Linked DNA regions of Homo sapiens: all the other regions are linked to region 3. The links are contacts of gene promoters, found by promoter capture Hi-C in blood cells and fetal thymus (Javierre and others, 2016). All regions are on one chromosome and are shown on one strand. The core of a region is centred on a gene start or on the middle of the fragment in contact, and the rest is flanking DNA. Distances in the headings are between cores, read along the strand shown.

Region 1 (3,061 bases), core at 398-2,897, 450 kb after region 3:
GTCCTTGTGGTGGAAAATGGCATGCTTTCGCTTTCAGATCCTGTTCGTGACGCCAAAAATGTTCTGTGTGGGAGACCTGTGAGGGGAGAAGCCACGCACAGTACTTTTAGGAGTAAACAACCTTTATCCCACGTAAATGGCAATGCAGATATAATAAACAAATGATACAATAAGTCAATGATATAATAAGAAAATTGATATAATAAGCAAATTGCAATGGGAAGGGGAGAAGGGAAAAGATATATATGTATATGTGTGTATATGTGTGTGTATATATATATATATATACACACACACACACACACACACACACACACACACATATACACACTCCTCAGACTATGGAGGATTCATCACCAGGCTGAGAAGCAACAGCCTGGGCTCCAGAGTCGGCCACTCATCTGTACACAGACAAGAAGATGTCTCTTGAAGCTTCGTTGCAGTCTGGGACCCTAGCTCTTTTTGTAACCAGTTGTTCGGCATGAGGCCCAGTCACGAGGGCCCTTCGAGACTGGGCTCAGATAACACAAAAGGTCAACTTGTTTTTGCGACTGTCTGTTGTTTTTCAATAACTAACGTATAGGTGTAGATTGAAATAGAGATTTCTTCGAAACAGTGCTGGATGAATTCCTCAAGGGGCTCACATGACCTGTTCTGGGACTTGGTGACCGTTGTTTGTGTCCATGTTCAATTGAGTTCAAATGTAATATCTAACTTTTTTTCCACACCTATATAAGCATAAAGGGTTATTTGGAGACTAGAAAGAGAGGTTTGGTATTAAATTTGGCTCAAATAGTAGAGTTCCTTCTGTGGTCCAAAATGCCCCCTCTCCCTCTGGTAGCATCTCTCACCCTTCTCTCCCAAGTGCCAATCTTCAAGATCCAGTACAGTCACCACCTCCTCATTACACTCTTTCTTCTCAGTTCCCCAAGGACCACTGCCTATTTGAGCTGAGAGAAGCACATTCTCCATATGTTTGGGGCTTAGCTGCTGAGTGGATTTTCTCATGCAGTTACTTAAGTGACGGTGGCTGAATTAGTTGAGGACTTAGCTCATTAATGTGCTCAGAAGTGCCCCAAACTGTGCTCTGTACTATGGGATACTCTCAGTAAACTTTTTTACATCATTGAATCTGGAGGAAATATGTCTTAATTTCCACTCCTTTCTCTTGAGCTAGATGTGGGTATTAGCACACCTTGGGGATACTTCTCGTTTGCCATCATGCTGGGAGCACTCCTGATTTAAGAAGTGAGGCTTTACCAAATCACTTGCAGAAATCATTGTAGGAAACTATGTGTCAGTCCTGCCTTAAATTTGTGCCCTTGCAATTGAGTCCTATAGAGAAGTATTTATGCCTCATTATTAAGTCTTTGGTTTCTATTCAGCAATGAAGATAATCATAGCTTCCAGAATGAGAAATAGCCAATGCAAACTTTATTTCTGTTGTATTATTCAACCTCCCCTGAAGGCTATCAAAGTTAGTTTCAAGGTAGTATTCCTTCTATAAGACATTTTCCCCAGGACTTTGAGAGAAGGTGCCAATATGTCATCCAGTGCCATAGCATGTCACTCCTGAATTAGTTCTACTTTAAAAATTCTAAAACTTATGACTCAGAGAGGTGAAGGAACTTCTTGAGAATCAGATGTTTCACAGCTAACTCTCTGGCTCCTAACTTCTTTATGCTGGGGTTAGAGTAAATCTGTTTCATACATCTCTGTGCACAAAAATAAATGTAGCCATTACCAACAAAGGACTAAGGATTTGTTTAAAATAAATTGAAGTCTTAACAGGATGTGAAAATTTTAACTTTCATGTTTTCCTCCCCCAAGTTAGTTGAACATTACGGTAAATGTACTTTTCTTAAGACATTTAGAATGGATTAGTTCAAAACATATTTTGTGTGGATAATAATTACCTTTAACATCTAGATATATTCAAAATATCTACCTGAATTTATGTTTTCCAGAATACTTTGCTTCACACACATACACAGATAAGAATAATCTTCAAGTGATTAGCTCATTAAAATCACCCCTTTAATATGATCTAAAACCAAAAATACTTTAAAGGGTTTCAGAAAGATCAATGAAAATTAATATATCTCTTTTCTACTAACACTGCTCCTTACTGCCAACACATCCTAGCATTAAATATTATTTTAAAAATGGACAGTTCTTTGCTAAAGGTCTGATAAGTGGCTGACCACTTAATTCCAGTGAAAATCTCATGAGTATATGTATTAGAATTAATGTTTCACAGGTGAGAGCTAAATCTGGTTGCTATCCTTTTAAAATGCTTTATAAACAAATCATAGAGTTGTGTAGCTGTTATAAAAAAAGGTTATCATGGTCAGGAGGATTACTCATAGAATGTTGATTAGCAAAGGGCATATGGACACAGGACAAAATGTGAAATACTCCCAGGTAATCTGAGAAGGGAAATATGAGGAGGAATCTGTTTTTTGGTTTAGTTCTACTAGTTTATTCAATATTTACCTTGTCCCTGTTCAACAAACATTTAATTTTCATTTTACTAGAAATGCAAAATTAAATGTTTTCCTGTATCGAAAGAAACAAGAATAGGTGCTTATAAAATAATATAACTATAATTACTTATAAAATAAAATAATATAACCACTGTGGTAGAACTACACATGCAGTATATGAACAATGAAGGTTTCCCACCTCACACTTTGGACTATGGGGTTAGAAAAGGCTTCTTGGAGGAAGTTTGCTGAAGTGATTCTTAAAGGATGAGTAATTGTGAACCAGGTGTTGAACCTGCCAGGGCAGAGTGACTCAAAGCATAGACACTGTTGATGAAGAGTCAGGGGCTTTCGCTTTAGCTGTGAAAAAAGCTTTCTTTTCATCATGTTGACACAAACAGGGAATCAGAAGTAAAAACTTTCCTTTTGGTAAAAACATGTTGAATTTGAGACATTAGAACAAAATCCAATTAGAAAAGCCTAGCAAGTCATTTGAAATGAGAAAGGACAACTGCATTGCAAATAGATTTGGGCAGCAGAAATAGTCACCTTATTTTGTTCCCATCTCACTGGCT
Region 2 (2,890 bases), core at 74-2,573, 410 kb after region 3:
GATACAATAATTTAATGCACAGGAAATATAGCAGCACTGAATAGTCCAACTCTTATACTGACACCAAGCAAATAAAAATTCTGTCAATCTGGATAGTCATAAATGTTAAGGATGTTTAGGAAGTATTACCAATTTATTTTCCTAAATGTTGAAATTACTGTAAATATATATATATATTTTGTTCAGGCATGGTGGCTCATGCCTGTAATCCCAGCACTTTGGGAAGCCAAGGCAGGTAGATCACTTGAGCCCAGAAGTTTGAGACCAGCCTGGGCAACATAGGGAGTTCCCATCTGTACAAAAAAATACAAAAATTAGCTGTGCATGATAGCTCGTGCCTGTGGTCCTAGCTACTCAGGAGGCTGAGGTGGGAGGATTGCTTGAGCCCAGAGGGTTGAGGCTGCAGTGAGCCATGATCATGCCACTGCACTTCAGCCTGGGCAATAAAGTGAGACCCTGTCTCAAAACATACACACACACATATCTATAGATATGTGTATATATATTTAACAATCTGAAGTGATTTTTTTTCTAATGTAAAAAATTAGTGGGCATTCAGTATAAATCAGTATTCCTTAAAATGTGTTCTATGGGTTTATTTTAGTGAAAATAAGTAGTGGTAGCTCTGTGAGCTCTGTCCCTCTAATATAGCTATATATTACACATTAGCATATTAAAATACTTGAATTCCTGGAGTAAAGAAGAAACCTAGAGATTTTCAAATCTGTTTAAACAAAGAACCCCACTCTCCTCTTTTTTAGCATAATACCTATTAATATCTGGTTTGCTGTTAATTCCATAAAAGATTAACCTTTCTTCAAATAGTTCTTTGTAATAGCACAATTTCCATTTGAAATAATCAGTTCATTACTGTATACATATTTTATGTTCCAACTTTTCAATGTTTCTTTTTATAAACATTTCCATAGTATTCTACTACTTAGATATAGACAGTCATTCTATAATTAGGCATTTGGGCTATCACAATTTCTAAATGTAATTAATACTGCTCTCAGCATTTTTATACACATTATTTTTCCTCTGTTGACCTATATCCTATTACTAAAAGAACTACCTAAAGTTTACTTAGGTCCTGTTGCTTTTTATTTCCAGTATCTCTGACCATTTAGATGCACTAAACATTTTTGCTTGTTTCTTCAGTATAAAATTAAATATATTAGGCATGTTTACATGAATTACAGCAAAGCTTTTCACTTGTGTTTTGGAGAATTCATTGTGAATTTCCTTCCTTTGGAGCTACCACTACTTATTTTCACCAAAATAAGTCAGTCAGTTTTCCTCTCTATTGGGCTCTGGATGGATCACAACTTCTGCACCCTTTAAAAATATGGATCACTATGATGTTGAGACAAGGACACAGGAGAAAAAGACTAGAGAAAATACATCCTTTGTGATTGTAATATCTTTGTGAAAGCTTGTTAGTTTATTTAAGTCACTCTTGCACTTGACATGCTTGTTTGATGGCATGATATATGCCGGATGAGAAATAAAATCTTCCAGCCAGATGTCATTAGTATCCAAAGGCCAAGACCATGAAAAAATAAATAAATAAATAAAAGCTAGGTATTGGGGCCATAAGTGTTTCATAGTGTTAGTCATAAATAGCCATAATGCTCCAAAGCAAATGGAAAATTTTCAGTATCAAGAGCGCTGTGTGAGGGAATAGACCTCTATTTTTTACAACTCTGTAAACTTATTTTATCATTTCCATTTTTGCTATTTTTTAATAACATTAAAGATTGTAAGTTTATTTGTTAATTTGTTAACAAAGCTGTGAATTTTTCTCATGTGACTATTTACTATCTCTATTTCCATATTTAAAAATATCCGTTCATCTCCTTTATCCTTTTTGGACAGCTTCATTCAGGTATAACTTATATACAATAAAATTTGCCCATTTTAAGTGTACAGCATGATGAGTTCTGGATTTGCAATCATCACTATGGTCCAGTTTTAGAACACTCCATCACCCCCAAAAGTTCCTTTACATGTGTTTGTAGTCAGTCCCCACTCAGACTCACCACTCCAAGCAATCCCAGTCTGCTTTCTATCCCCATTGTTTCACCTTTTCTAGAAATTTCAAGTAAATGGAATCATGTAATATGTACTATTTTGTGTCTGGCTCCTTATACATAGCATAATCAGCAAATTTTTTTTTTTTTTTTTTTGAGATGGAGTCTTGCTCTGTCTCTTAGGCTGGGATGAAGTGACGTGATGCTGGCTCACAGCAACCTCTGCCTCCCGGGTTCAGGCAATTCTCCTGCTTCAGCCTCCCAAGCAGCTGGAATTATAGGCATGCACTACCAAACCTGGCTAATTTTTTGTTTTAGTAGAGTCAGGGTTTCACCATGTTGCCCAGGCTGGTCTCAAACTCCTGAGCTCAGGTGATCCCCCAACCTCGGCCTCCCAAAGTGCTGGGATTACAGGCGGGAGCCACCGTGCCCAGCCCATAGCATAATGTTTTTGAGGTTCATCCGTGTTGTAGCTTGTATCAGTACTTCATTCCTTTTTATTGCTCATTAGTATTCCATCATATGAATACACCACATTCTGTTTATCTACTCACCAGCTGATGGACATTTGGACTGCTATTAGTTTTTTTTATTATCATGAATAATGCTGCTATGAACATTTGCATACATGTCTTTGTATAGACCTGTTTTTATTTTTCTTGGGTGGAAACCTAAGAATCAAATCATTGGGTCATATAACTACTCTTGTGTAACTTTTAAAAGAAACTGTCAAACTGCCTGCATCATGTTACAATTCCACTAGCAATCCAGTTTCTCTATATTTTTGCCAATAATTGGTGTTGTCAATCTTTTTGATTGCTATTGTCTGAATGTTTGTGTCGCCTTAAAACTCACGT
Region 3 (2,821 bases), core at 243-2,742:
TTGTTCCCCTACCCCATTTTGTCTGTTATCTTATGAAAAATGCAGACTCCCACATTCTTCCTCTGCCCATTTTATGTCATCTTATGTAAAAAATGCAGATTCACTGAGCCAGAGAAAGGCAAGAATTACTATTTTCTCCTACCGCCCCCTTACATGAAAACGGTGTGCTTCTCAATATCCCGCCCTTTCCCCTTTAAATTTGGAGCACTCAAAATCATCTTCGAAGAAAGGCATAGACCTGTTTCCTGGGCTCGTACTTAACTTCGGCAAATAAATCTCCTAAAGTGATGGACTCTCTTATAAATTAATCTGTAGCCAAGGCATGTCATCAATATGTCCTACTGTGCCTTCCTACCTCCCATTTATCAACTTACATGAGAAGCACACATCTTACTTGTCATAAATTATTACCTTAGTGAAAACCTGAGGGTGTCAAGAAGTCGAAAAATTTGAGACATTGACGTTGGGGAAGACACCTTTAATTAGAGCACCATAAAATCATGATAGAATGATACATTTTTCCTTGCCTTATATTTTTGGCATGCAAAACAGAAGGAGCTCAAACAATTGAGTGACACATTAGTAAAATTCCTTTCATTCATTTCTACTTACAAGGCACACACCATTGACCTCACCCCGTCCCCCCCTTTAAAACAATATTTGACCCGCGCCCCCCCCCCTTTAAAGCAATCTTTGAAAAGTTAGGAATGAAAGCCGGTTCAGGACAGTACACAGTACACAAATACTGGCTTCCCCTACCTCCACCACAAGCAAGTAAACATCCTAGCACAGTGTAAAAAGGAAGAGGCTGAGGACGAACCACGCGGACATTTGCAGGCACACCCCTTCCCTGCGACCAACAAAAATGCAGTAGCGCAATTACACTTGAAGGAATTGCAGCACTCACAAAAGCACACATTCTGTTCAATGGTTGAGTCCACATAAAGTGACAGTCCGTTTCTAAAAGCATGGCTGTATTTAAAGGACACATGGTCTGTTCAGGTCCGCTTCAGCGAAACCCCAAGCACTTCCGAGAGATCCACTCCCTCTCTCCGAGCAGGTGCCACTAGCTGCTCCGCCGGCGAGCGTAGGAAGCAGCGCGACCAACCAAATCGGTTGCCCACAACAGCCAGGGACGTCAAAAAGGCCAAACTGCGTGGGAAGCGAGCGTGCGCCTCCATCACCACGACAGCACCCGTCTCGAGGCTCCACCTGCCGCTAGTAGGTGGCTCTCAGCTCTGCTCTGCTAAGGGCGAGCTTGAGAACCCGGCCTACAGTTGTGCACCTCCCCCCGCCCCCGCCCCCGCCCCCGCCCCCGCCCACCGCACTTGTAGCCCCGCCCCGCCCAGGGAGCTTCCGTCACAACACTTCCGGCTCCAGCCTCCCAACCGGCCTCCGTCGTTTTTCACTTCCCTCTCCTCAGCTCTCTTCCCTTGCCCCTACCGTCTCCTTTAACACAGTCACGTGAGGGACGCGCGCGGGGGCAGCTGGGAGTAGTACTGCCGGTTGGTCAGGGTTCGGCCTCAACATGGCGGTTCCGGCCGGGCAGTGACCAAGGTTTTGCCGTCCGAAGGACTAAGTGGTGACTGTCGGCGTCTCCACCTATCGGGGTGGAATGCGAGCACGCGGGGACGAGCGCTGAGAAGCGGCGGTGACGGGAAGGGGGGGGTCAGTGGATTGTGCCCCAGAAACCGAAGCGGCGGCGTCTGTTCCTTCTTGTTTCTAGGCTCCAGTGCGTTCGGGGCCCCGCCCGGCCGGGCCAGGCCGGCGGGCGGCGGCGGTAGCTGCTGCAGCCGCAGGATAACCTCGCAGGGTGGGCCGGAGGGCGGGCGCCGCCGCTGCCTGTGCTGCGGCGATGGCCCAGTGTGTACAATCAGTGCAGGAGCTAATCCCGGACTCCTTCGTCCCCTGTGTCGCTGCGCTGTGCAGCGACGAAGCCGAGCGGCTCACTCGTCTCAATCACCTCAGCTTCGCGGAGCTGCTTAAGCCCTTCTCCCGCCTCACTTCCGAGGGTATGTGGTATCCTCCCTTTTCCAGTGGGCTCCCGCAAAGCCGTGGTCGGGAGAAGGAAGTTGCGGGCGGGCAGGGAAGAGAAGGGCAGTGTTTACGTCCTGGAGCCGGTACCGTGGCGTCTGGGGCTGTGGCCCCGCGGTGCTCCGGGGGCGGCTGGAGGAGGGACCGTGAGGTTGTCAAGACAGCGCAGTCCTAAGCTCCAGTTTCTCTGGGCACTTCCTTTCTTCCTCGGACAACCTAGGTCGTTAAGTAATTGGTGCAAAGATAAACGTGAGTCTTCGAGAACGGCATTGAGACTGTTCTCCACGGCCATAGCGAAGGAATTAGGCACTTGCAAAGCAGCTAAGGTAGGAAAATGCTGCCTCTTAGACCGACAGGGTCTGAGTAAGGAAGACCTGTCATCCTCCCTTGGATGTTAAACTGGACTTTGAAAGTAGTTGTGGATGTTATTACATTCTTGTAGCGTTGAGGGTCATCTCTGTCTGAACTACCGTGTAGCTGTTTTACTAATATATTCTTAGCTATACGGTATTTTGCTTAACCTCTCAAGAAAATTAAAAGTATTATAAGAAGAATAAAACTTGAAGCAGCTTTTTGCCCTAAGGAAGAGGAAGCAAGCCCAAGTTGTGGTTAATTTAACCTGGATATTTGGAGTTATCTATAGTTATAGGGATGGAAATGTCTTCTCTTGTTAATGAATGTCTTGTTAAGAAGCTACCCGTTTTCTCCAGTTTTGGATTTTTTTATTAGGAGAAAATAATGTGGTAAAGCTTCAAGCATGTTTTAGCCAATATCTTGCAAACAACAA
Region 4 (2,748 bases), core at 120-2,619, 430 kb after region 3:
CATTCAATAAACAGAATTTATGAGACATTTCCTCAATTCTAAGTTTTGCATGGTCCTTATCTTAAAATTTCTGCAAGTTTGAATTAATTCATACCCTCAATTTCCTGAGCTTGTAGGATATGTTAAGTAACACAATATTCTTACCCTGTTGGATGCTTACATACTGGGGAGACAAAGACAGACCAGGTTTTGATAAGAGCAATAAAAAAAATTAAAGCAGGGTCAGGATAGTAGAGAGTGACTTGGAAGTGTGGGAAAACTCTCAGAAGGGGCTGCATCTGCACAGAGACGTGAATGGTATGAGGAAGCCAGTCAGGCAGAGCCCTGCAAAAGGAACGCCCAGGCCATGCGGTGGTGAATCAGTGATGATGATGTCACAGGGATAGGCCAGTACCCAGTCAGGGAGAGGACTTTGGGTTTTATCCTGAGTGTGAGAGGAAGCCACTGGAAGCTTTTATGTTTGGAAATGATACAACCAGTTTATGTTTGAAAAAGCTCGCTGGTGCTACTGTATGGAGAACAGGCCATAAAGTGGCAAGAACAAATGTATAGAGACCAGACTGTAGTCATTGCATCATTGCAGAAGCACGTGCAATACATAACACTAGCTTAAACCCTGGGAGTTGCAGTAAAGATGAAAGAAAGTAGATATCTCCAGTGTTTATTTTGAAGGCAGAGGCAACAGAGACCTGTGAATGGAATGAATGAGGGCAAATATAGATGACCCTTAGAATTTTGACCCGGAACACCTGGGTGAGTGAAGGCACCATTTCCAGAGATGAGACAGAATGGGGAGAGGGATGGGGTAAGCTGAAGGTGAGGCAGGAGACAGGGGTGGTGTTGAGGGAGGGGTGAAATGGGAGGTAAGAGCCGTTTTTATGTGTTCTGTGTGAATGGCCTTTTGGATATAGGAGTTAGTAGCTCAGAAAAGAAGTTATGCCCGGAGATAAAAATTTGGGAGTCATCAGTCGGTTTTAGTTAAGGAACTGGGATGCATATTAGAGGTTTTGTACATCTTTAATGTAATGTTTCTTTTCTTCTCTCAAAAGGCTGGTATTAAATTGCTGAGCATCTAGGGAGCCAGCGTGACACAGGCAAGGCTAATCTGCTGTGAATTGGGACAGCGGCTATCAGGGGGATCGTAGGGACTGAAGGGAGCACAAGGGGCCTTCTGGGATGCTGGCAATCTGTTTCTTCACCTCGTTACTGGTGACATGGTGTTTTCAGTTTGTGAAGATTCAGTGCACTCGTGATATGTGCACTTTTCTGGATGTATGTTACACTAAAACATCAGAAGAATTGATGTGCATCTTAAAGTCAAGGTTGTCTTGGAATCTAGGTAAGAGGGTTCTGCTATCTGCATTTTTATAGCACGTATTGCAGTAGCATGCTTTTAGTAAGGTGTTATGGACTGAAATATTTGCTTCATTCATTGTACAAAAAAAGAAAAAAGAACTGCACTAACATTTTGTCAATTGTGGAACTGTCTGTTTATTTGACTGAGCAGTTAAGATCTCAGCCACTGCTTTCTAAATAATTTGGATCTGGTTCCTTAAGATCCTCTATCTCACAGAACACATTCTTAATTTAGACCAATCGTTCTCCACTAGGGGCAGTTTTGCCCTGCCCCGCTCCTCCTGCCACTGGGGATATTTGGTAATGTCTGGAGACGTTTCTGGTTGTCAAACCAGGGTGGGGCTCGAGGTAGGGGAGATAAATGCCAGTGGCATCTAGTGGGTAGAAACCAGAGATGCTGTCAAACATCCTACAATGCACATGATAGCCCTTACAACTAAGTGTTATCTGGCTGCAACTGGCCAAGTGCCGAGGTTAAGACACCATGGCTGCGTTTCTCTGATTGGAAGCTACTGTAATAACCAGGGTCAGGACAGTAATACAAGCTGCAGAGGACTGTGGAGATTCTGTACATCTCTAGTGGGTAGTATACTGCAAGTAACATGACTGGAACAAGCAGAAACTCTCTGCCTTAGTCCTCCATTCCCACTCCCTGGCACTTTTTAAAAAACCTGTCCACTCTGTAAGTTTGAGTCACCTCCTGTGGGGATGCTGTGAAGAGGTTTCAAGCATGGGAGGGGTGGCTGGACAAAATGGCCAATAAGGTTTCCTCCAAACACTAAATCTGTGACTTTTTTTCTCACCAGGAACTTGGTGACAGAAAAATGTCACCTGCAACATGACTTTAAGACTGACGAGGAAAAGTAAGCTGCTAGTTCCTGTATCCAAAGCAGTGTTTTCAGATGAACCAAAAAATTCTGCAAAAGCTTTTCTAATTTGCTAAACTCTAAAAAAAGTATTTTATTAACTAGTTTTGCTGCTTTGAAAAACATGTAAAAAATTTTTCTACCATTGGATCCTGCACATCTTATAAAAACTGGACTTCCTGGTATCTGGCAAAAGATTTTTTTTTTTTTCCTGCAGAGGCATGAGGGAATACCAAACACCATCAATCAATGTACTCTTTGTTTTCAAGGTCAGCACTTTTAGAAAAGACTTTCTGTTCTGAAGTCACCTTGATGAGTTTAAACAAGAATCCAGAAGGACTCATGAGTCACTGGATGACAGCTCCTCCTGGCTGACAGGTTCTCTGTCAGAAGTCTTTCCTTTAAAGTAGAGAATCTTGAAGTGTTCAGTGGTTTTATGGTGAGGTGATCCCTTAAACTTTAATAGATCAGACTAAGAGATACCTTATTAAAAATGGATGTAGAGAAATACAAATTAGTTTAAAAC
Region 5 (2,750 bases), core at 129-2,628, 300 kb after region 3:
TCAAAATAGTGAAATTCAGTATTTGGTAAATTATATTATTTACATTTGCTGATTGTGATTACACTGCTGGGTAAATGGATTTCAGTCAACATATTTATTTTCTGATCTTTAAATCTCTAACTGGGAAAGAAACCACTTGTGCCAGTTAAAAATCTTAGATTTATACTATTACATCTGGGATTAAGAACAACAACAACCAATCTCAGATTCACCACAGAGGAGAGTGAAGATTGGCTCTCCATGGAGTTCAGTGGATCTCTTCAGTTGCCCTTGAAATCTCAGCGAGTGAAATAAAGGGGACTGGCCCAGTTGATGGTGTCCTTCTTTACAAGAAGGACATTCCCTCTCTAGCTTCATTCATAGCAGGTGGTTTTCCGATGCCTTTTGTTTTGTTTTTAAAGCAGTGGAAGGCTTTCTTGAGTGAAACCTAAAGGGGACAAAAGAGTACGCGAAAGAGATGAAAGTGGCTGTGTTGGGGGAGCCTGAGTCCTCCCTTCTCCAACCACAGGATCCCTGAGAGAGGTCCTTCCCAAGGACGGTTTGGAAACCACACCATCATTAGTTTATCTGCAGCATACTTCTTCCTGGCCACTCTTTTTATAACATGACCTTTTCCCTTCCCTTCCTATGTACAGGATCTTCTCCCTAATACCACTCCCCACAATGATGAATGTTTGTTCTTCCTCTCTCTGATCACACTTTCGCTGTTCCCAGTGGTGGCAATACTTGTCCTGGGAGGCCTGTCCCCTACACTCCCCAGTATAGCGATGTTGCTCTTATCATGGGTAGCATGCCACCAGGTCAATCTTTAGCCTTCAATGAGCAAATTACTAGGATTTCAGAGCAAAGGGCAACAAGCACATAGGAAAGCTCCTGATGGACTCTGAGGGGTGTGGATGGGGTGGGGGAGGTGCACAACCCCGAGGAGTGTGAACTTAGGATACCTCAGGCATGGGGATAGTGATGGACAGAGGAAGCCCTCTCTATTGAGGGAAAGAAATAAAGCCTGTCTCTTGCCAGCACATATGCGTTGGAGATGGAAATTAAACTGCAAATGATGCTGGAGAAAACTGCTGACAATAATGATGATTACAGCTGTTGAAGCAATAAAGCTGGAAAAAAGACAAAAAATGTGGTTTAACAGTGCAGAAAGAATACCAGCTTCAGTTACTTATATGAACTGCTTATTATTTAGCCTAATTACTATCATTTTAGCAATCATGCATACTATTAAATGTATCAGATTTATTTGTGTAAATTTTATTTGATTACAATGTTAGATTCTGTTCTTTGTCAGCTGAGTCATGATAGTCTGTACTTATGTTTACTGATCAATCTTACATTTTACTTACTCTTTCTCTGCAAGTTCATAGGTTTCTCTTTCTTTTAGATGAATCTGACCTTTCTAAGATTAGCTAGTTTGTGTATCTTGTCACGCTGAAGGCTGAGTGTTTGGTTATAAAAGACTGCTTATGTTGTCAGTAGAACAGGCAGGCATTAGAAGATTGCAATTCTTTTTCTAACTTATTCTGGGAAGCAGGTATTTCGATGTAAAATACTCTAGCATGCCTGCGTGGAGGCTACAGACAGCTCTGCCTGGTTAGGATGAAGTGGGGACAGGAAGAGAGGCCATTGTGAAAACTCCTAAAATATAGAATAGCAGGAGCAAAGAGGCTCTCTAGAGAGGAACTGAGTGTTTTTATATGAAATTGTGGCCACATGAAACTCAGAAGACTCGAAATGGGAAACCTCAACATTTGTTGGTTTGTATTTTATGAGATGAGGTCAGAGAGAAGAATTTGGCTGGAGGGCGCTCCAGAGCAATTTGTACCTATTTGGAAGTTAACGGATGACATTAAAACTGCTAAAAGATGATCTGTAGTTTCAATAGCCTTTTACATCCTGTTCTAACAGTGAAGTCATTGAAGATAGCATTGCTTTGAAGGGATGTTAGTGATCATGCAGCTATTTTAATTCAGGGGGAGATAAAGAGGCTTCTTGATTCTTAGTTCTCTTTTGGGGTTAACGGAAGTGGTTTTCCATTCAAGATTCATTCCTGTTTCAATGGTATACATTAGAAAAGCTACTAGTAAGAACACCTCCAGTAATGTCATATATTTGTTAATTTGGAGAATGAGTGCCTGTTAGACCAGGAATACCTCAGAAGTGGTTTTTCAGTTTTGTATGCCAAGGGGCCTGATATATGGTAAGTGCTCAGAATCAGTACTTTGAATTATGTTTGCAAATTCCCTCTCTTAAGAAATGTCAGTAGGTAACAGTAATAGTAGCTAACATTTGTTGGTTGTACCTAATGCCTGACACGGCATATGATCCTTCACACAGATGATTTCTTGGAATGGATACAACCACCTTGGGAGGCAGACATCACTGTCCTTTTTACAGAGGAGGAGGCTGAGGCACAGAGAGGTTAAATCATTTTCCCAATAGACAGAAGCTAGGAATCAGTTCCCAGTCAATCTGACTGCTTATTTCATTGTTAAGTACTGTGCCATTGTGTCCCCTGTGTTGAAAATGTTAAAATTAAAAATGGTATTAAAATATTTGAATAGTTGTTAAATTGCAGTGTTAAGTTATAATGACATGCAAACATTTTCCAAATAATACTAAATTATTCAATATATTACCCAAAAGCAAAACGGTTTTTAAAAAGAATTTGATTTTCTTTGGCCGATTTACCAAACATAGAAGGGTGACCATATATATTATCATTGAAACTAAAAGTGAAAGGG
Region 6 (3,033 bases), core at 246-2,745, 350 kb after region 3:
CAGAAGGAAAAAGCTCAAATATGCTGGCAAGCTAAGCCTTTGGAACCATGCACAGTCCTTAGAGCAGGAGTACAGAGTCAGGTCTTGTTTTGCAAATTCACGCCGAAAGTCAGGATGACCCTAGCTTGACTAAGGGAAATCCCAGAAAGCCTAAAGGCTGTATCTATTTTATTGGTTTTAGAAAAAAAAGGTAGGGAGAATGCAAAACTGCATTGAGTCATTGAAGAGCTGCTGCAATAGTGGCTGCCAACCACAGACTTAGAGATTTAGCATTCTGGAGCTGGAAACATTCTTCCCAATTTACAGATGAGCAAACCAGACTTGAATTATTGTATTGTCCCAGTCTACATTCTGATGGAACCATAGTAGGAAGGCAAGTCTCCTGTCTCCAAGCCCAGAGATTCCCCCACCCTCCTATTCTTTGCATTTTCTAACATGAAGAAGAAAAGTATATTTTTATGTATAACAAGCAATGAAATACGAAGTAAAAGCATTACAGGGCTCTATTTACAATACAGAGTGTGGAAGATCATGGTGGAATTTTGAAATATATATGCATGCACTAGAGCTCATTTAAGCTTTGTAACTGGGCAAATTGTGGATCAAAATGCTGTTCCAGATAGTCACACAGTTCTGTCAAATCAGTAGAATATCTGCGACTCAGGTGCTGGGACAGCCTTGGTTCTCAGAGTGAGGCAAGTTGGGATATATTGAGGTCAGGAAAGAGGTAGAAGACAGTAAAGATGTGTTTAATTTGATTTATTTTGTATACAGGCCTTGGGTTGAGGTTTGGACACACTCTGCATAAATACATTTTGTTCTAAATATGGGAAAAAGAAACCCGGATTACTTAGGGATAGGAGGAAAAAAGGATCTGAGTGAGCCATACCAAAAACAAAAATAATACTGGGGCAAGAGGAAGTGAGAATCACCTAAGAATCTCTTAGGAAGAAAGGGCTCCCCTTAAGGCCAATTCCCTAGAATCAACTAATAAAAATGTCTTTTGTCTTATGGTGACATTGACCTTCAGCCCACTTGATTCTTCTTAAAAATTGTAAGAGGCATAATCTGTAATCAAAAATCCATGAAGTAGCCGGGCACGGTGGCTCACACCTGTAATCCCAGCACTTTGGGAGGCTGAGACAGGTGAATCACCTGAGGTCTGGAGTTCAGACCAGCCTGGCCAACGTGGTGAAAACCTGTCTTTACAAAAAATACAAAAATTAGCCTGGTGTGGTGGCGCACACCTGTAGTCCCAGCTACTCGGGAGGCTGAGGCAGGAGAATTGCTTGAACCTGGGAGGCGGAGGTTGCAGTGAGCTGAGATTGCACCACTGCATTCCAGCCTGGGTGACAGGGCAAAACTCCATCTCAAAAAAAAAGGAAAAAAAAATCCATGAAGTGAAGAGGCCTAAGAGCTCCTAATAAAAGTTTCCATTTTCCCTTGGTAAATCTACTATGACCACCTGGGTCACTGGCCAAGGTAGAGTTGACCAGTTCTGAAGGAGGCATTTATCAGAAGAAGCTGCATGAAGCCCACCACGCACCCGTCACCAAAGTGAGGCATTGGGACTCATCTCTCACTACTCGCTCTCTCTTGTTCTCCGTATTTATCTGGGCTTCAAGCTGGGCTGACGGTCCTGCTTAATCTGTCTTACTTCAGTCCTTTCCCTTCCATTCCAAGGGTCGGGATGTATTTTCATTTCTAAATCCACAGCATCTAGCAGAGTGTTCCACACATAGAATGCTTTTTTTTTTTTTTAATGTTTGTTGAATGAATACTGCAAGAATGAAGAGCAGACAAGGAAGCTAAGATCTAATGAAAGAGAACAACATGTGGGCAGTATGTCAGTGAACCTTTTTATATGGTTCCCATCAGGCTGAGACCCAGCTCTTGGGCAAACAACAGTCTCAGGTAGGCAGATCTATTACTCGAGGGTAGGGGCTGAGACTCTAGGGGCAATGTCTTGTGCTGGGCGCCGCCGAAACCCTGCTCCTGCCCTGACTGGGGTCCATGTCTTGCTGCTGGCTGAGGGGTAGTCAGGGACATGCTCCTTGGTAGATGGGGCTCTCTTGTTGACTTGTGGGCCCCAGAAGTCAAACAAACCCCTGTTGTTTCCCTGGTAACATTGTCTAATAAAGGAACCACTTTATAGCAATTGAAAGTCTCATCCATGACTAAGCCAGAGAATAGTTCCCTTTCATGCCGAGCTATTTTTGATGGAATTAGTTGATCTTTAACTCTGACCAACATGTCTGGATTCTATTTCCATGACAGCCATCTGTTTCAAATGACTTAAGAAATTAAGGAGAAGGCAGGGGGACTGGGTCCATGTATAACTGTTTGAAGATCCTCACCATAGGCAGGGGAACAGAGCACGTTACAAATGTGGCTTTTCTTTTTTTAAGCTTGGCTTTCACAAGGGAAAAAGTTTCCTGGGGCATAATGCGAGGCATAGCAGAACTGAGGGCAAACCCAGCCTGGGCCTTAATTGTAAACATTTCTACTTGTGTATTTCCTAGTCTTGTGACCTTTGACAAGTTATTTGACTTCCTGGTGCCTCATTTTCTTCATCTATAAGATGGGGATAATAATAGGACTGACCTCAGTGGCTTATTCCTGAGGATTAAGTAGGTTAAATATGGAAAACACTTATAATTGTGTCTGCCACATGGTGTATGCTTGGTAAATGTTATCTATTGTGTTGCCATTATTACTTTGATTTTATTGTCTCTATAGGTATGTGTTGCCAAGAATCACTTGTCCAGACCTCCGAGAAGCCAGATGTGTTTTGGAATGAAGAATGTTACGGGTTTTCGAGAAATAAAATGGTGCATCTCTTGTTACATACACTCTACGTGGGGTCTGGAGGGCTGCCTCATAAACTATTATTTCAACAGCAGATACATCAATATTCATATAAAGTGGAATGAATAGACTATGAGTAGTTTCATGTAAGTTCAAGTCATGTTACTAAGTGGATTTTCATCAAAGTCAAAAAGAAATTTGCTTCTCAGAGTGTTGTGAATTTTT
Region 7 (3,113 bases), core at 579-3,078, 370 kb after region 3:
TGTGACTGTGACCTTTTTGGGTGTTTGCATCTCTGTTTACCTCTGGGATTTCTCTCATTCTTTAGGAGAATTCATTATCCTCTGTTCTTGCAGAGAAAATCTCCTTAGGCAGCTGCTGGGAATAACTGTTAAGTTGTTCCTAGTATTTCCATGGCTACCCCTGTCCCAAGTAGAAGACAAGCTGGGGTCTCCTCTAAGTAGTCAAAGGGAGGGTGGGGTGGAGGAAGGATCAGGAGCTGTGAGGCAGACAGACCTCGTCCAAACCCTGCTTTTACCACCTTCTGGGTGTGCAGATGAATCTCAGGTCTCCCAGAGTCTCTGGTTCCTCCTCTGCATTGCTGAAGATTGGTAAAGATTGGGAAGAGCAAGGCCTGGAAAGCACGGCTTTAACAAAGAATCGGCTCTCAGTCTATCCTTATATTTCTTCACTTGAATGGCTTCTTATAAAACCTCTTTCTAATATGTTGCCTTCTTTCAGCCAAGTCTTGTTCTTTGTCTCCTATATACTATTTATCCCCTTTATCCTTGTATCTCCTCAAATCTTCCACCTGACAGCTTCCCCAATGATAAACTTCTTGCATCGGTGCGGTGCATTTGTTGTAACTGATAGCCAATATTGATGCATTATTCTCAACTGAAGTCCATAGTTTACATTAGGATCCACTTTGTGTTGAATGAGGTTTTGACAATTGTATGATAACACATATCCGCCATCACCGTATCATATGGAATAGTTTCACTGCCCTAAAATCCCCCTGTATTCCGCCTAGTTATCCCCCTCTCTTTCCCTACCTCCCCTGCAACCCCTGGCAACCACTGGTCTTTTGACTGTCTCCATGGTTTTGCATTTTCCAGAATGTCAGATAGTTGGAATCATATAGTATGTAGCCTTTTCAGATTGGCTTCTTTCACTTAGTAATACGCATTTAAAATTTCTTCATGTCTTTTCATGGCCTGATACCTCATTTCTTTTTATCGTTGAATCGTATTTTGTTGTGTGGATGCACTACAATTTGTTTATCCACTCACCTATTGAAGGGCAACTTGATTGCTTCCAAGTTTTGGCATCAACTATGCCAAATTATAAATAAATAAAGCTACTATAAATACTTATGTCCAGGTTTTTGTGTGCAGGTTTTGATTGGCAGCTGGAATGACTGACCTAGCTTTAAGAATGATCTTAGCTTCTCCAATTATATGTGTTTATTTTAGCATGGTTTGCATCATCTACTACATACAGAGATTTCTCATTTCTCTGAGCTAATGCTTCCTCGTTTAAAGAGAAACAATCATTGTCATATAACTGCAGGCATGGTGGCTTATGCTTGTAATCCCGGCACTTTGGGAGGCCAAGGCAGGAGGATCGCTTAAGGCTAGGAGTTCAAGACCAGCCTGGGCAGTGTAGTGAGACCTCATCTCTACCAAAAAATAATTAGCTGGGCATAGTGGCATATCCCATAGTCCCAGCTACTTAGGAGGCTGAGGCAGGAGGATTGCTTGAGCTCAGGAGTGTGAGTCTGCAGTGAGCTGTGATCAAGCCACTGCACCCCACCCTGGGTGGCTGAGTGAGACTCCTTCTCAATTAAAAAGAAAATTTAAATGAAAGTCATATAACTTGCAGAATTCTGGAGTTCGGGAACCTCTCAAGGCCCAAGTCCACACAATGTCCTTCAGCTTCCAGGCTTGATTAGACTTAGGGGACTCTATCACTCTCACAGCAATTAGCAACCATGGAGCTTTAACCCAGAGAAAGATCTCACATGGGGGTTTCTGGAACATGGCAGGCCATTCATAGCACTTGGCCATAGGCTAGCTCCCTAGTGACTTTCAATCCCACTGTTCCTTCTCCTAAAACTGGCTCAAGCAAGGAGAGCTTCTCACCAGCTAATGCACCCCAGAGCACTGCTCAGGTTTAGGTGAACAACTGTGAGAACTATTAGGGAGGAGTTTTTACTGGTGGGGGACCTAATCCACATGTAGACCAAGAGGGAAATGCCTGAATCTTGTTTGTCCCTCCCTATTTAGGCAATAGGGCTGTGGAATCAGTTTCCTGATCATTCTGCTGACTTAGCCCTGCCCTTTACTTTTACTTGAGGGCTGAGATGGTAAGATTATCATTTTCTTTTCTTTTCTTCTTTTTTTTTTTGCACTCCTAGGCGTGATCTTGGCTCACTGCAACCTCTGCCTCCCGGGTTCAAGCGATTCTCCTGCCTCAGCCTCCTGAGTAGCTGGGATTACAGGTGCCCACCACCACACCCAGCTAATTTTTTGTATTTTTAGTAGAGTCAGGGTTTTGCCATGTTGGGCAGGCTGGTCTTGAACTCCTGACCTCAGGTGATCCACCAGCCTTGGCCTCCCAAAGAGTTGGGATTGTGGGCATGAACCACTGCACCCGGCCATTCTCATTTTCTATCTGCTCCTATTTTTACACAGCCATTTCTTCTCTTCTAACTTTTAATTGCCTCAATAAAAAAGGATCTTGCAGGCCAGGCATGGTGGCTCACGCCTGTAATCCCAATACTTTGGGAGACCGAGGTGGGCAGATTGTTTGAGGTCAGGAGTTCGAGACCAGCCTGGCCAACGTGGTGAAACCCCGTTTCTACTAAAAATACAAAAAATTAACCGGGCATGGTGGTATGTGCCTGTAATCCCAGCTACCCAGGAGGCTGAGGCAGGAGAATCACTGGAACCTGGGAGGCAGAGGTTGCAGTGGGCTGAGATGGCACCACTGCACTCTAGCTTGGATGACTGAGTGAGATTCCGCTCAAAAAAAAAAAAAATAAAAATAAAAATAAAAAAGAATCTTGCTAGAAATAACTCCCCTGGATGGAGGTATTAGTAAACAAAATTAGCGAATACATGTTGTTCCAAGCTATTAGGTTTTTCTGTTTCTTATTATTTTTCATTCTTTTCAATAATTTTAGTTAACTTTCAATGAAAATAAAAATATGGTCCCGAGGTCAATTGGGATTGATTTTCTTGGTTGATTGAATTAAAATGCCCCTTTCTTGAGTTGCTAGTATCAGAAATAAAGGAGCCGAGGTGAGCAAAGGCAAAAATAAAATGAAGCAGACGCCTTTTTCCAAGTGTATAGATAAAAGAGCCCCAGCGAC

The links. The method cuts DNA at HindIII sites, captures the fragments that hold promoters and counts their contacts. A CHiCAGO score of 5 or more calls a contact.
Region 1: a contact is called between a fragment that was not itself captured here and the fragment with the promoter of TRAPPC8 in region 3, in 1 of 17 cell types (fetal thymus). The highest score is 5.8, in fetal thymus.
Region 2: a contact is called between a fragment that was not itself captured here and the fragment with the promoter of TRAPPC8 in region 3, in 1 of 17 cell types (fetal thymus). The highest score is 5.6, in fetal thymus.
Region 4: a fragment that was not itself captured here is called in contact with the fragment with the promoter of TRAPPC8 in region 3 in 1 of 17 cell types (fetal thymus); the score reaches 6.5 in fetal thymus.
Region 5: a fragment that was not itself captured here is called in contact with the fragment with the promoter of TRAPPC8 in region 3 in 1 of 17 cell types (M1 macrophages); the score reaches 5.4 in M1 macrophages.
Region 6: a contact is called between a fragment that was not itself captured here and the fragment with the promoter of TRAPPC8 in region 3, in 1 of 17 cell types (fetal thymus). The highest score is 5.8, in fetal thymus.
Region 7: a contact is called between a fragment that was not itself captured here and the fragment with the promoter of TRAPPC8 in region 3, in 3 of 17 cell types (fetal thymus, megakaryocytes and M0 macrophages). The highest score is 7.5, in fetal thymus.

What each region holds. Positions count from the first base shown.
Region 1 is chr18:31,490,326-31,493,386 of GRCh38, reverse strand. No RefSeq gene overlaps it. Among named protein-coding and RNA genes, the nearest start is that of DSG2, 6.3 kb to the left of the region's middle. RefSeq lists an enhancer at 3,044-3,061. The HindIII fragment of the contact is 2,426 bases long and covers 435-2,860 here.
Region 2 is chr18:31,528,009-31,530,898 of GRCh38, reverse strand. The region is part of intron 8 of DSG2 (desmoglein 2); the gene reads right to left. Among named protein-coding and RNA genes, the nearest start is that of DSG2-AS1, 27 kb to the left of the region's middle. The HindIII fragment of the contact is 228 bases long and covers 1,210-1,437 here.
Region 3 is chr18:31,941,799-31,944,619 of GRCh38, reverse strand. TRAPPC8 (trafficking protein particle complex subunit 8) reads left to right here and starts at 1,492. Exons shown (of 29, transcript NM_014939.5): 1 at 1,492-2,012. The coding sequence starts at 1,856. RefSeq lists enhancers at 1,508-1,717, 1,819-2,597 and a silencer at 1,768-1,887. The HindIII fragment of the contact is 12,839 bases long and covers 1-2,785 here.
Region 4 is chr18:31,510,275-31,513,022 of GRCh38, reverse strand. All of the region lies in intron 1 of DSG2 (desmoglein 2), which reads right to left. Among named protein-coding and RNA genes, the nearest start is that of DSG2, 13 kb to the right of the region's middle. RefSeq lists an enhancer at 1,700-1,769. The HindIII fragment of the contact is 1,831 bases long and covers 454-2,284 here.
Region 5 is chr18:31,645,630-31,648,379 of GRCh38, reverse strand. The region is part of intron 3 of B4GALT6 (beta-1,4-galactosyltransferase 6); the gene reads left to right. Among named protein-coding and RNA genes, the nearest start is that of B4GALT6, 38 kb to the left of the region's middle. The HindIII fragment of the contact is 4,430 bases long and covers 1-2,750 here.
Region 6 is chr18:31,595,402-31,598,434 of GRCh38, reverse strand. The region is part of intron 3 of TTR (transthyretin); the gene reads right to left. It overlaps LOC124904277 (a long non-coding RNA gene), which reads left to right. Exons shown (of 2, transcript XR_007066326.1): 2 at 2,740-2,857. Among named protein-coding and RNA genes, the nearest start is that of TTR, 5.0 kb to the right of the region's middle. The HindIII fragment of the contact is 1,830 bases long and covers 581-2,410 here.
Region 7 is chr18:31,568,848-31,571,960 of GRCh38, reverse strand. No RefSeq gene overlaps it. Among named protein-coding and RNA genes, the nearest start is that of DSG2-AS1, 13 kb to the right of the region's middle. The HindIII fragment of the contact is 5,620 bases long and covers 1-3,113 here.